Regions from separate parts of the Homo sapiens genome. Here region 1 is linked to region 2. The links are contacts of gene promoters, found by promoter capture Hi-C in blood cells and fetal thymus (Javierre and others, 2016). All regions are on one chromosome and are shown on one strand. Each heading gives the region's core, a stretch centred on a gene start or on the middle of the fragment in contact. The rest is flanking DNA. Distances are from core to core; before and after follow the strand shown.

What was found. Contacts are between HindIII fragments. The CHiCAGO score rates a contact against its expected background, and 5 or more counts as called.
Region 1: a contact is called between a fragment that was not itself captured here and the fragment with the promoter of IFIT5 in region 2, in 11 of 17 cell types (neutrophils, naive CD4 T cells, total CD8 T cells and 8 more). The highest score is 9.5, in neutrophils.

What each region holds. Positions count from the first base shown.
Region 1 is chr10:89,292,935-89,299,764 of GRCh38, forward strand. LOC105378419 (a long non-coding RNA gene) reads right to left here. Exons shown (of 3, transcript NR_188200.1): 2 at 638-734. It also overlaps a transcript of LIPA not described here. Among named protein-coding and RNA genes, the nearest start is that of IFIT2, 5.7 kb to the right of the region's middle. The HindIII fragment of the contact is 8,375 bases long and covers 1-6,281 here.
Region 2 is chr10:89,412,850-89,419,530 of GRCh38, forward strand. It overlaps IFIT5 (interferon induced protein with tetratricopeptide repeats 5), which reads left to right and starts at 1,719. Exons shown (of 2, transcript NM_012420.3): 1 at 1,719-1,954; 2 at 4,356-6,681. The coding sequence starts at 1,950. The coding sequence ends at 5,799. It also overlaps a transcript of LIPA not described here. RefSeq lists enhancers at 1,576-1,885, 2,496-2,595, 2,696-2,765. The HindIII fragment of the contact is 3,334 bases long and covers 1,687-5,020 here.

The sequences.
Region 1 (6,830 bases), core at 844-3,343, 120 kb before region 2:
CACTGTACCTGGGCACAATTCTCATTTTAAAAATGAAGAAATTGAGGCACAGAAAGGTTTCTAATATGGTTTGGCTTTGTGTCCCCACCCAAATCTCATCTCAAATTATAATCCCCATAATCCTCATGTGTCAAGGGCAGGACCTGATGGGAGGATTGGATCATAGGGGTGGTTTCCCCCATATTATTCTCATGATAATGAGTGAGTTTTCATGAGAGCTGATGGTTTTATAAGCATCTGACATTTCCTCTGCTTACATTCACTCCCTCCTGCTGCCTTGTGAAGAAGGTGCCTTGCTTCCCCTTTGCCTTCTGCCATGATTGCAAGTTTCCTGAGCCCTCCCCATGGAACTGTGATTCAGTTAAACCTCTTTCCCAGTCTCAGGTAGTATCTTTCTAGAGTATGAGAACAGACTAACACAGTTTCCATCTCTATTACTTAACAGCAGCAGCCAGATCCCGGCCCCCTTTTCTCCACCCATATGTAATTCCTCTTACGGTCTCCACTTACTCTTTTTTTTCCCCATGGACTTGTCCCATATTGTCTAATTTATTTATTATTGTATTAGTCTACATTGGCTGCCATAATGAAAAATCACAGACTAGGTGGCTTAAGCAACAGAAATCTATTTTCTCACAGTTCTAGATGCTAGAAGTCCAAGTTGGTTTCTGGTGAGACCTCTCTTCCTGACCTGGAGATGGCAGCCTTTTCTTTATCTTCACATGGCCTTTCCTCTGTGTGAGATGAGAGAGAGAGAGAGAGAGAGAGAGAGAGAGAGAGATATCTGAGGTCTCTTCTTTTTCTTCTTGTTTGTATGAAGACGTCAGTGTTACCAGATTAGGGGTTACCAGATTAGGGGCCCCACCCTTAAGACCTCATTTAACCTTAAATACCTCCTCACAGGCCCTATCTCCAAACAAAGTTACGTTGAGGGTTAGGGCTTCAATGATGAATTTTGGGAAAGGAGTTGGGAACTCAATTCAGTCCAAAGCAGTTGTTTATTGCCATCTCTTCCTGATAGAATATAAGCTCCATGAAGACAGAGATCTTTGTGTACTGATGTATCTTAAGAGCCTAGAATGGTGCCTGGCACATAGTAGATTCTCAGTAAGTATTGATTTGATGAACGAATGGTGAATGAATGAATGAAACAAATACTCCTAGTGTTCTAACAGGGATAAGTGTACAAATTGTCCCAGCAGAAGTTTATTTAGCATGGTCTTATTTCTGAATAGGACTATGGAAAGATAAAGTCATTTACCCGCATCAAGTTTCCACTCAAAGACTGCCCAACTGCAGTCTAAAAAATTAATGCTGAAAAATGTCTTAGTCCATTTTTTTCTGCTATAACAGAATACCACAGATGGGCAGATTGGGAGATTGGGTAATTTATAATGAACAGACATTTATGGACACATGGTTCTGGAGGCTGGAAAGTCCAAGATCAAGGGGCCACATCTGGCCAGGGCCCTCTTACTGGGTCATCCCATGATGGAAGGGTAAATAGGGGGTGAGGGTGAGCAAGAGAAGGTTGAAGTCATCCTTTTATATGGAACTCCGTCCCTCAATAATGGCATTAATCTATTCAAGAGGACAATGCCCCCATAACCCAAATACCTCCCATTAGGTCCCACCTCCCAACACTGCCACATTGGGGATCAAGTTTCCAACACATGAACTTTGGAGGACATATTCAAACCACAGCAAGAAGAAATGGTGTTTAATTAATTTTTGAAAAAAGAATAAGAATGGGGAGCTGGCCAAGTGCTGTGGCTTATGCCTGTAATCCCAGCACTTTGGGATGCTGAAGCAGGAAGATCAGTTGATCCCAGGAGTTTGAGAGCAGCCTGGGAAACATAGTGAGACCCTATCTCTACAAGAAATAAAAAATTAGCTGGGTGTAGTGGCACTCATCTGTGATCCCAGCTACTCAGGAGACTGAGGTGGGAAGATCACTTGAGCCTGGGAGGGAGGTCAAGGCGACAGTGAGCTCTGATTGCGCCACTGCACTCCAGCCTGGGTGACAGAGCAAGACTCTGTCTGAAAAGAAAAAAGAAAAAAAGGAAGAAAGGAAAGGAAATGAAATGAAAGGAAAGGAAAGGAAAGGAAAGGAAAGGAAAGGAAAGGAAAGGAAAGGAAAGGAATGGAAAGGAAAAAAGAATGGGGAGCTATTTTATTAACTATATCAATATTTTTGAAGTTCATGTGGAAGACCATTTTAAACGTGTATTTGTGAATGAGTACAGAAGGGAATGTCATATAGGTGGGAACACATTGTTTTCAAATTACAGCCCATTGTGGGGATCAAGAGAACCCACTGGGCTACCTAAGTATTCCTCTAACAAGTGCGAATACTATTGAACAGTCACCAGCTCTTCTAGGTGGACAAAACTTCAGTTAAAAATAGACTCAAAACAAAAAAGAGGGTCAAATTTTTTAAAAAATCTCAAGGAAAAAGCATAGAGTTTCATTTTATAGAAGTAAAAGTATTTTTGCTTACATTCAATATATTATTTGGTTCTCAGACTTTAGCATCCATTATAATTATCTGGAAGGCTTATCAACACCTAGATTTCTGGGTCCCACACTGGAATTTCTGATTCTATCAGTCTAGAATGGGGCCTAAGAATTTGCACTTCCAGGTGATGCTGATATTGCTGGTGGCAAGTAGCAATATGAGAATTATTGCATTATACCATCTGTAGTTGATGTAACCCATTCCAGGAACAGGAAGCAAATCTATATTCTATATAAATGAAATCTATTGTTCTAGGAAATATGAACAGGGCCTATATTCCAGGAAAAAGACACATATATATTTGTAGCAACGAGGTTAGGCAGAACTCTTTCTAATAAGTTTCATTTTCTCAAAATAGAAATAACACCAGGAGAAAGTTGGTTTTCCTTTTCAGTTGCTATTTTGCAATCACATTGCATGCATAGTCTCACACTAACCCAGCTACTAAATCAGCTGATGCATACCTGCTGTGGTAACATTATATACAGGCACTAGCCATACAAATTTCTGAAGTGTAAATCAGTATCTCAACCATTTCAAAGCACAGTGACCATGGCAAAACCTTTCTCTATGCTTCTCCCCAACCAGTACCTTTATTCACAAGATTTTAAAATTCCTATCCAATAGTTTTCTTGAATACTGAGTTCAAAAAATAAATCAAACCAAACCCACAGCATTTCCACTTTCCTATTTCAGCATTTCTTAAAAACCTAACATACATTTCTGTAAGTACCTAATAGAACTTGTAAATAGAAGCCAGGCACTGTGGCTCATGCCTGTAATCCTAGCACTTTGGGAGTGCTTCCCAAGGCGGGCAGATCCCTTAAGGCCAGAAGTTCATGACCAGACTGGCCAACATGGCAATACCCCATCTCTACTAAAAATACAAAAATCAGCTGGGCCTGGTAGCTGGGCCAAGTAGCCAGCTACTTGGGAGGGTGAGGCACGAGAACTGCTTGAACCCGGTAGGCAGAGGTTGCAGAGAGCCAAGATCTCACCACTGTAGTCTAGCTTTGGCAACAGAGCGAGACTGTCTCAAAAAAAAAAAAAAAAAGAAGAAGAAGAAGAACTTGTAAACAGAAAAGGAACTTGAAACTCTTGCGTAAGACACAAAAGTAAGGGTTTCCAACTGGGACAGGCTTAGCTGTGCATCCTAATCAAAGGGTGGAGACTTTTTAGGAAGGATAGTTTCTTTTTCCTCCCTGCCCTAGGCAGAAAAAAAATTATGGTAAATAACTTTTCCCAAGACTGAATAACCTACCTTAACAACCTCAGTTTTGCTGGAGAATGTGTTCTATCTGTGCTTTGTGTAATTTTCTGACCTCAATCTTTGAGGTACTATTATTTTCTTTTGGGCCTATATACATGATTACCCCCTTTGTGACTAAGGGTATGAATAAGGAAAATACATTTCTTCTATCATTACAAAACACTATGGCTGTACATTGTGATTTGGGGATGTCAAATACCAGGGCAACAAGCAGGGATTTAAAATATGGTGGGGATTCTGGTTCAGGATGGCTGACTAGAGACATCAGACACCCACCCTCTCTAGAAAGAAGAACCAAAATTATGAATAGATAATTATACCTCGAATAGAACATCTAGGAGACAACACTAGAATTCAACAGAGAAGTCATGGGAAACACCCAAGGCGCAGAAGAAGAAGGTATCAAGTGGCCAGCTTGGCTGAGATTGGCCAGGATAACAGAGGGCCTTGGCATTTCAGGGAAAGGTCAAATGAGAGAACTTCAGCAGTCCACATCCCTCCTGCAAACTGCTGCAATCTGAAACATGAGAGAGTTTCTCTACCCATACAAACTCTGACACCAGTATGGGTGGTGATTTGGAGACCCCACAAGGGTATTTCATGAGACAGGGAACTCACGCTGGGTCTCTCAGCTCCCCCAAGACCTAAGCGGCACCATTGTGAGACTATAGTCATGGAATTACATCCTATCCTGGGAACCGCAGCTCCCATATCTCCATATCCCAGGAGCCCCCAGTGATATTTCCCAGTATCCACCCAGTGGGCTACAGTGACACAGCACTGGCTAGACCCAAAGGTAATACAGTGTCCGCAGCACCCCAGCCCACAGGGAGTACTACTCCCCAGGGAAAGAATGGTGCAATGTGCCAAAAAGACAGCCCCTGATACAAAGGAAACTAAAACATGTCCTTTCCAGAGCCTCCTGTTTGGGGCTGTGAGAAGTGACCCTACCCTTAGCAGCACCACAAACTCTGTACTCGGCCTCACAAGTGGATAGTGAGATACTCTCCCACTAGTGAAGCAGGCTGTGTGCTTGGGCTTACATGTAGAGAGCAGAGCCCCTTCTTGTCCTCTACACACTGCTGCAGGCACAGCCACTGATGCTACTACCAGAGGCTGGGGCAGGGAAGCCAGATGGCCGCCTGTCTGGTGCTGTGAGTGGTGACTGCACCCCCACTGGACGCATGGCCTCTGTGCCTAGGCTCACACCTAAAGAACAGCGTCTCTCCTCTCTCTGCACAGTGCTGCGGGGTTGCTATTACAGAGAATGAAAGAGCCTGAGAGCTGTGTGTCTGTGGTATAGGTGGCAACCCTGCACCACAGCCACTGCCAACATCAGTGTACACTTATCAGAACCCAAGGGTTTGTCCCACCGTTGGCTACTGCCATTGCCCAGATCACATCAGCTGCCCAGGGACTTGAGAACCCACTCACCCACCTGGCCCACTGCTGCCACTATCAGCATCTGAGCAAGCTATCTGGGGGCCCAGGAATTAGCCTACCTGGTCCCACTAACACCAGTGCCAGTGTATGTTGTTCTGGGGCCGAAGATCAGACATCCTCAACCCACTGCTGCCACCACTGGGGCCTGAAGACTGGCCCACATGGCAACCCTGTTCCCAGTAAAATGTCACGATAGCCTCCAAGAATAAACCCCACCCTAAACCATCAAGGAAATCATATATATCACTGATCACAGCCAAATAAATTGTACAGAGGCTACACTACCATGCACACTCAGAATCAAAGTTGAAGTGCCTTACTCAACCAATATTGTTGATATATCTTCAGGAAAAAGTCCTCCCCTACAAAAGCAAATTCAAAAATTGAAAGAAGTGACTATTATATTAGATGCTCAGATATCAGTGAAAGGACACAGGAAGCATGTAAAAGCAAGGAAATATGATACCTTCAAAGGAATACAATTCCCCAGCAACAGATCCCAATCAAAAAGAAATCCAGGAAAAACTATTCAAAATTATACTAAGCACAGTGCCTCACACCTGTAATCCCAGCACTTAGGGAGGACAAGGAGGGTGGATCACCTGAGGTCAGGAGTTCCAGACCAGCCTGGCCAACATAGTGAAAACCCATCTCTACTAAAAATACAAAAATTAGCCAGGCACGGTGGTACATGCCTGTAATCCCAGCTCGAGAGGCTGAGGAAGGAGAATCACTTGAACCAGGGAGGCAGAGGTTGCAGTGAGCAGAGATCGCACCACTGCACTCCAGCCTAGGCAACAGAGTGAGACTCCATCTCAAAAAAATAAAAAATAAAAAAATAATATATATGTATATATAAAAAATACTAAAGAAGCTCAGCAAGATACAAGAGATTTCCAAATCCAATACAATTCAAACAATACACAGAAATCGGAGAAACAATTCAGGATATGAATGAGAAATTTGCCAAAGAAATAGGTATCATAAAAATAACCAAACTGAAATTCTGGAACTGAAGAATTCCTTGAATGAAATACAAAATATACAAGAAGCTTCAACAGTAGACTAGACCAAGCAGAAGAGAAAACATCAGAACTTGAAGACAGGTCTTTTGAAATAATCCAATAAGACGAAAATAAAGAAAAAAAAAGAATTAAAAAGTATGAACAAAGTCTTCACGATCTATGGGACACCATAAGGTGACCAAATATATGAATTATCAGTATCTCCAAAGGCGAAGGGAAACTGAAAGGGTTTGAAAACCTATGTAATGAAATAATAGATGAGAACTTCCCAAGTCTAGTAAGAGATTTAGACATCCAGATACAGGAGGCCCAGCAATCCCCAATCAGATACAGTGAAAAACGTTCTTCTCCATGGCGCATTATAGTCAAACTATCTAAAGTCAGTGACAAAAAGAAAATTTTAAAGACAGCAAAGGAAAAGCATCTCATCACCTATAAAGGAGCTCTGGTATATGTGACCAACAGGCATATGAAAAAATACTCAACATCACTCAACCCCAAGGAAATGCAAATAAAAATCACAATGAGATATCATCTCACCCCAGTTAGTATGGCTATTATTAAAAAAAAAAAT
Region 2 (6,681 bases), core at 469-2,968:
ATCTTTAACAACTGTAGCACTCACAGCGAGAGTCCGCAGCTTCATTCTTGAAGTCACCAAGACCAAAAACCTACTGGAAGGAACCAATTCCGGACACACCATCACCTACGTATTAAGCTCAGCATCACTTAGCTATACTTCTTGATGCTCTCCCTCCCACCACCCCCAACTCCAACAAGCCCCAGTGTGTGTTGTTCCCCACTGTGTCCGTGTGTTCTCATCATTTAGCTCCCACTTACAAGTGAGAACATGCAGTGTTTGGTTTCTGTTCCTGCATTAGTTTGCTGAGGATAATCACTGGAAATACTTGCTCTGTATTTAGAGTTCATAAAATTTGCAACTTATAAAAAGCAGATTCGTATACCTAAGTTATTCCAAATGTAAGTTTTCTATTAACTTATCAGTTTTTAAATTTATATTAAATTAAAAATCAGGTTCTTAATAGCCACAGGTGACCAGCAGTTTCTGTATAAGACAGTACAACTGTTAGAAGTGATTGCTTTAAATGAGGCACTCGCTTCAGGCACTAAGTTTTGAGGGGTGGGGTGCCAGAAGCTCAGTGATCAAGGTAGACAATATTTCAATGCAATATGTTTTTAAAAATTCAAAATCAGGCCAAGCATAGTGGCTCATGCCTGTAATCCCAGCATTTTGGGAGGCCACGATGGGCGGAACAATATTTAAGGTTTAGAAAAATATTTGTGCCCAGGTGTTGGAGACCAGCCTGGGCAACATGGCAAAACCCCGCCTCTACAAAAAATAAATTAATTAGCCCGACATAGTGGTGCACGCATATAGTCCCAGCCACTCAGGAGGCTGAGGTGGGAGGATCGCTTGAGCCATGAAGGTTGAGGCTGCAGTGAGCTGTCATCTCACCACTGCACTCCAACCTGAGTGACAGAGTGAGACCCTGTCTCAAAAAAAAAAAAAAAACCAAAATCAATGCAAAAGATGAATTATGGACAGGATATTGAGGTTTTGAATACAGACATTAACTCAATAAGGGTAAGGCCCGTGTCTGTTTTCTTTATTGTTATATTGACAGTACTTTGAACAAAGTCTGGCTCTTACAGTTGTTTGTCAATATTTGCTGAATGAATTCAAAGGGGACAAAATGTTTAAGGTATGGGTGTTTGACATTTTCTGCCTAGATCCCCAATACCACTCTTGTCTTTATTGGGTCCTTATTACAAAGCACCATTGGCGAAGGTATGGAAGAGAAGCAGTCTCCTACAATTGTGGGTAAGAGTGGATTTTTAAAGCTATTTGGCAATATCCGTCAAAACTTAAAATGTATATAGATTTTAGCTCCAAATTTCTCAGTTTACACCCAACAGAAATAACAGCATAGATGTATAGCATTGCAGTGTTGCTTGTTGAATCAAAAGACTGGAGTGGAAGCAGGGACTTAAGTTTCCGCCTGTAATCCCAGCACCTTGGGAGGCAGAGGCGGGCGCATCCCTTGAGATCACGACTGGGTGACACAGTGAGACGCTATCTCAAACAAACAAACAAACAAACAAACAGTTACACGGGCAGCATGCGAACTCAGCGTACTCAGGGAGGCAGATAAAAGCCGAGACCAAAGTGAAGGAGCCCAGCTGCAAATTCAACTCCGAAAGACCCTGGACTCCGCAAACGTCTGGCCGCGGCTCTTGAGCTCTTCTATTAAGTTTCGGTTTCTGAAGCTTACGTTTAGTTTCGATTTCTTAAGTTTCAGTTTCTGAGCGCTCGGCATCTGATTCAATCTCCAGTTTCCTGTTCTTGCTGGGGCTGGGGTCTCTCCTTTAACAAAGACACGCCGCGCGGCCGAGTCCAGGGGCTGCAGAGGCCTGGCGCGCGCACGCGCACGCGCACGCCCACCGCGCGGCTTCCCGCGGTCCCCGGTGCTGAGGAGAGAGCGATCCGAGGGACTGCGCCGCCCGGACGGCCTGCAGAGCGCTGCCATCATGAGGTAAGGGTTTTCCTTTGCCTCTCCTCCCAAGCCCTGCGTCGGCCTTGGTTTCAAACCGGGCTGCTTTTATTCATTTCCAGCGCAGTTCTGCGGCCTTTTCAGGGGCCGAGCCCCTCGCGCCCAGCAACCGGGCATCTGCGTTGGGGACCCTCCCCGGGCGCTCTGTCCCGGCGCGCGGCGTCTGAAGTCGGGCCTGCCGGGGAGGGTGGCCGAGTGGACGCTTCTCGGGAGTCCGGCCCCTCCCCAGCGCCTAAGAAGGCCGGTCAGGGAGGAGGAACAGGAGATGCTCCCCGGGAGCCTGTCCCATCCCTGGCGTCTGCGGTCGGGACTGTCAGGGTATGTGCCGGGCGACGCTCCCCCGGAAGGCCTGTCCACCCATCGCGACCCGACGGCTCTTCTCGGCAGCGGCGACGGTGACCGTGCTGGGTCCGCGGCCGCCGCCTCCGGGAAACTGGTCAGCGCCTGCAGAGCCCCCAGGCGCTGTTCCGGGGGCAGCTGCTACGTGCCACGGGTCTCCTTAGGCCTGTCGCGTGCCTCTCTTTCCAGCTGCCATTCCCTCGGTGTGGCATACGCGGTTTCGCCGCAGCCCTGCAGGCGTCAGGTTCGCCTGCCACTGCCAGTTTGCGTTTCTGATTTCTGGGTCTGAGTTCTTCCCTTCCCAGGAGCTACCTCTGTACCAAGCACAGATTGTTATCGTCCCACCCAATCCGCTGTTTTATGAGGATTTCTTTATCTGTTTCCTTTACTGATTTAGTATGATGGCGTCCTTTTCTTGATCATTTTGTATCCCCAGGGGCTAGCACCCCGCCCTGCACGTGGTTAGTGAACCTTCCGCATTTAATGAGTTGAGGAATGAGATGTTAAGGTCTTGGGCTCTAAAAGCAGATAGTCCCTTGTTCTAAATCCGGACTGAACTCCTACTAGTTGAGTGATCCCAAAGTTTCTCAAACTCTGTGAGTCTGTTCCTTATTTGTAAAAATTAATGGTGTCCATCTCTTGGGACTGTGGAAAAGGACAGTAATAAATCCTATCAGTTGACTGCTTAGCACATAATACTTGCACAATAAATGTTAATTATTCCCATTATAAGTTTAAAAAAAAAGTTTAAGTGCCACCCACACATCTAACTTTATTTTTGAGACGGAGTCTCGCCCTGTCACCCAGGCTGTAGTGTAATGGCTCCATCTCGGCTCACTGCAACCTCCGCCTCCCGGGTTCAAGCCATTCCCCTGCCTCAGCTTCCCGTGTAGCTGGGATTACAGGCGTGTGCCACCACGCCTGGCTAATTTTTTGTATCTTTAGTAGAGACGCGGGTTTCACCATGTTGACCGGGCTGGTCTCGAATTCCTGACCTCGTGGTCCACCCGCCTCAGCCTCCCAAAGTGCTGGGATTACAGGCGTGAGCCACAACGCCTGGCCACATCTAACATTTGTAAGAAAGGAGAGTGCTATCAGGAAGGGGCTTGACAACAACAACAACAACAAAACAACAACAACAACAAAAAACAGAAAAAGACGGTGGCGTGCACCGTATATATGCAGGATGGGGAGGAAAAGGGCTCAGCCCCATTGGGGACTGTCTCCCAAGGACAATGAAAGTCTGCTTCTTCCTAGCAGAAGAACAGAATTACCGAAAGATACGTGTTACCTCTTCTGATGCAATAGCTTCTCTCTTATTAGCTTCCCAAAGACAAAGTTACAAAATTAAGTAGACAAAGTTTAAACAATAAAAATTCTCATGGTGTCCAGTTGTGCATAAATTCCAGAGCCTGGACAAACCACGTCAGTACCTGATTGAATGTCCCTTTGAGATCTTACAACCAAATCCATAATACCTGAGCAGCCCTCCTCATCCTCCTTGGGCTGGGCTGGTAGAGACCTTCAAAACAGGTGTTTGTTTTAGGCAGGGGGCTGGTAAAGCCATGTTGTTGTGGATTTAAGCAGGCTGTAAGGACATGGCATGTCTTGCCCATATTTTTGGTACAATTACACTAGAGAAAGGAACAATTACCAAGGAGCAATTTTACCAGGTTTCCTAGTCAGGATCAGTACTCATAATACAAAAATGGAATTTTCATATTAATTATTGAATATGTATATATTCATTCCTAATTTTCAATGGTTTAGTGATTGCCAAAAGGAAATAGATACATGTAATACAGAAAGCTCTGTCATCTCTCCAGAACTGTTTTTGCAATAAATAGTGAGAATTTAAATGAAATATTTCTAGGACATAACTGTATATAGAAGAAACTCTAGTATAAAGTTATGGGAAACTTATGTTTTAACTGTAAGATCAAATAGGGATAAAATTAGTTGTTATGCAAAGAACAATATTTAAGGTTTAGAAAATTATTTCTTGTATTTCTTCAAAAATTAAAAAGTATTTTATCTTTGACAGTGAAATTCGTAAGGACACCTTGAAGGCCATTCTGTTGGAGTTAGAATGTCATTTTACATGGAATTTACTTAAGGAAGACATTGATCTGTTTGAGGTAGAAGATACAATTGGGCAACAGCTTGAATTTCTTACCACAAAATCTAGACTTGCTCTTTATAACCTATTGGCCTATGTGAAACACCTAAAAGGCCAAAATAAAGACGCCCTTGAGTGCTTGGAACAAGCAGAAGAAATAATCCAGCAAGAACACTCAGACAAAGAAGAAGTACGAAGCCTGGTCACTTGGGGAAACTATGCCTGGGTGTATTATCACATGGACCAGCTTGAAGAAGCTCAGAAGTATACAGGTAAGATAGGGAATGTCTGTAAGAAATTGTCCAGTCCTTCTAACTACAAGTTGGAGTGTCCTGAGACTGACTGTGAGAAAGGCTGGGCACTCTTGAAATTTGGAGGAAAGTATTATCAAAAGGCTAAAGCGGCTTTTGAGAAGGCTCTGGAAGTGGAGCCTGACAATCCAGAATTTAACATCGGCTATGCTATCACAGTGTATCGGCTGGATGATTCTGATAGAGAAGGGTCTGTAAAGAGCTTTTCTCTGGGGCCTTTGAGAAAGGCTGTTACCCTGAACCCAGATAACAGCTATATTAAGGTTTTTCTGGCACTGAAGCTTCAAGATGTACATGCAGAAGCTGAAGGGGAAAAGTATATTGAAGAAATCCTGGACCAAATATCATCCCAGCCTTACGTCCTTCGTTATGCAGCCAAGTTCTATAGGAGAAAAAATTCCTGGAACAAAGCTCTCGAACTTTTAAAAAAGGCCTTGGAGGTGACACCAACTTCTTCTTTCCTGCATCACCAGATGGGACTTTGCTACAGGGCACAAATGATCCAAATCAAGAAGGCCACACACAACAGACCTAAAGGAAAGGATAAACTAAAGGTTGATGAGCTGATTTCATCTGCTATATTTCATTTCAAAGCAGCCATGGAACGAGACTCTATGTTTGCATTTGCCTACACAGACCTGGCCAACATGTACGCTGAAGGAGGCCAGTATAGCAATGCTGAGGACATTTTCCGGAAAGCTCTTCGTCTGGAGAACATAACCGATGATCACAAACATCAGATCCATTACCACTATGGCCGCTTTCAGGAATTTCACCGTAAATCAGAAAATACTGCCATCCATCATTATTTAGAAGCCTTAAAGGTCAAAGACAGATCACCCCTTCGCACCAAACTGACAAGTGCTCTGAAGAAATTGTCTACCAAGAGACTTTGTCACAATGCTTTAGATGTGCAGAGTTTAAGTGCCCTAGGGTTTGTTTACAAGCTGGAAGGAGAAAAGAGGCAAGCTGCTGAGTACTATGAGAAGGCACAAAAGATAGATCCAGAAAATGCAGAATTCCTGACTGCTCTCTGTGAGCTCCGACTTTCCATTTAAATACATACTCTAGGAAATTAGCTCTAAGTTTTTCCCTTCATTTTGGGTTCTCCTGTTTGTTTTTTTTTTATTATTTTAATCCCTTGTTTATTATAGAGCTAATATTTATTGAATAGTTATTGTGTACCAAGCATTGTGCTAAATACTTTATATGCATTATGATGAATCTTGTGCGGTTTTCTTTCTTTTTTTCTTTTTAATTAAAATACTATAATCCATTGAGAAATAGCAATATTCTAGCTATTGTAACTTCTAAAAATGGTATGGCCATTAGATCTGTGCTTTTTATCTCTGCTCTTTGAATTTCTCATATTATATAGTAAATATATTCCTACGTAAACCTTTGATACCTAGATCAGGAATACTCTTCCAGGAGTACAAAATTACATTATTGATAGTTAAGCTCTTAATTGTGTAGCTTGCAAAAGACAGCACTTTTTAGTTACAGATGTTTTGACTTTGATGAGGATATTTAGCTATCAATCTAATAGTCACCTAAAATATCTTTTTTGTTGGAAAAAAGTTTATAATAAAAAAGTTTGTCATCTCTAGTGACTTCAATAAAGAAAAAACTAGAAGAGGAGAAAAAGGATTTCCTCAAATTTTAAATATGTAACTTCAGGGATTCAATCCCCAAATGTTTATTAAGTAGCTAGAAATAATTATGTGGAAAAAAATGAATAATGGAAAATAGTGAGTCTCAAATTGTTCTCTTTTTTTTTTTAACTAAAACAAATCTGCAATGAATCTAGATGCAATTAATTTTATTCCTTCCAACTAAAATTACAATATTTTTAGGTTAAAATTATTGAGATATAAAGCAGCCATTGGGAAATTGGGAGAAATGATAAACAAATGGAAAAAGAAGATGTCCCTAACCTA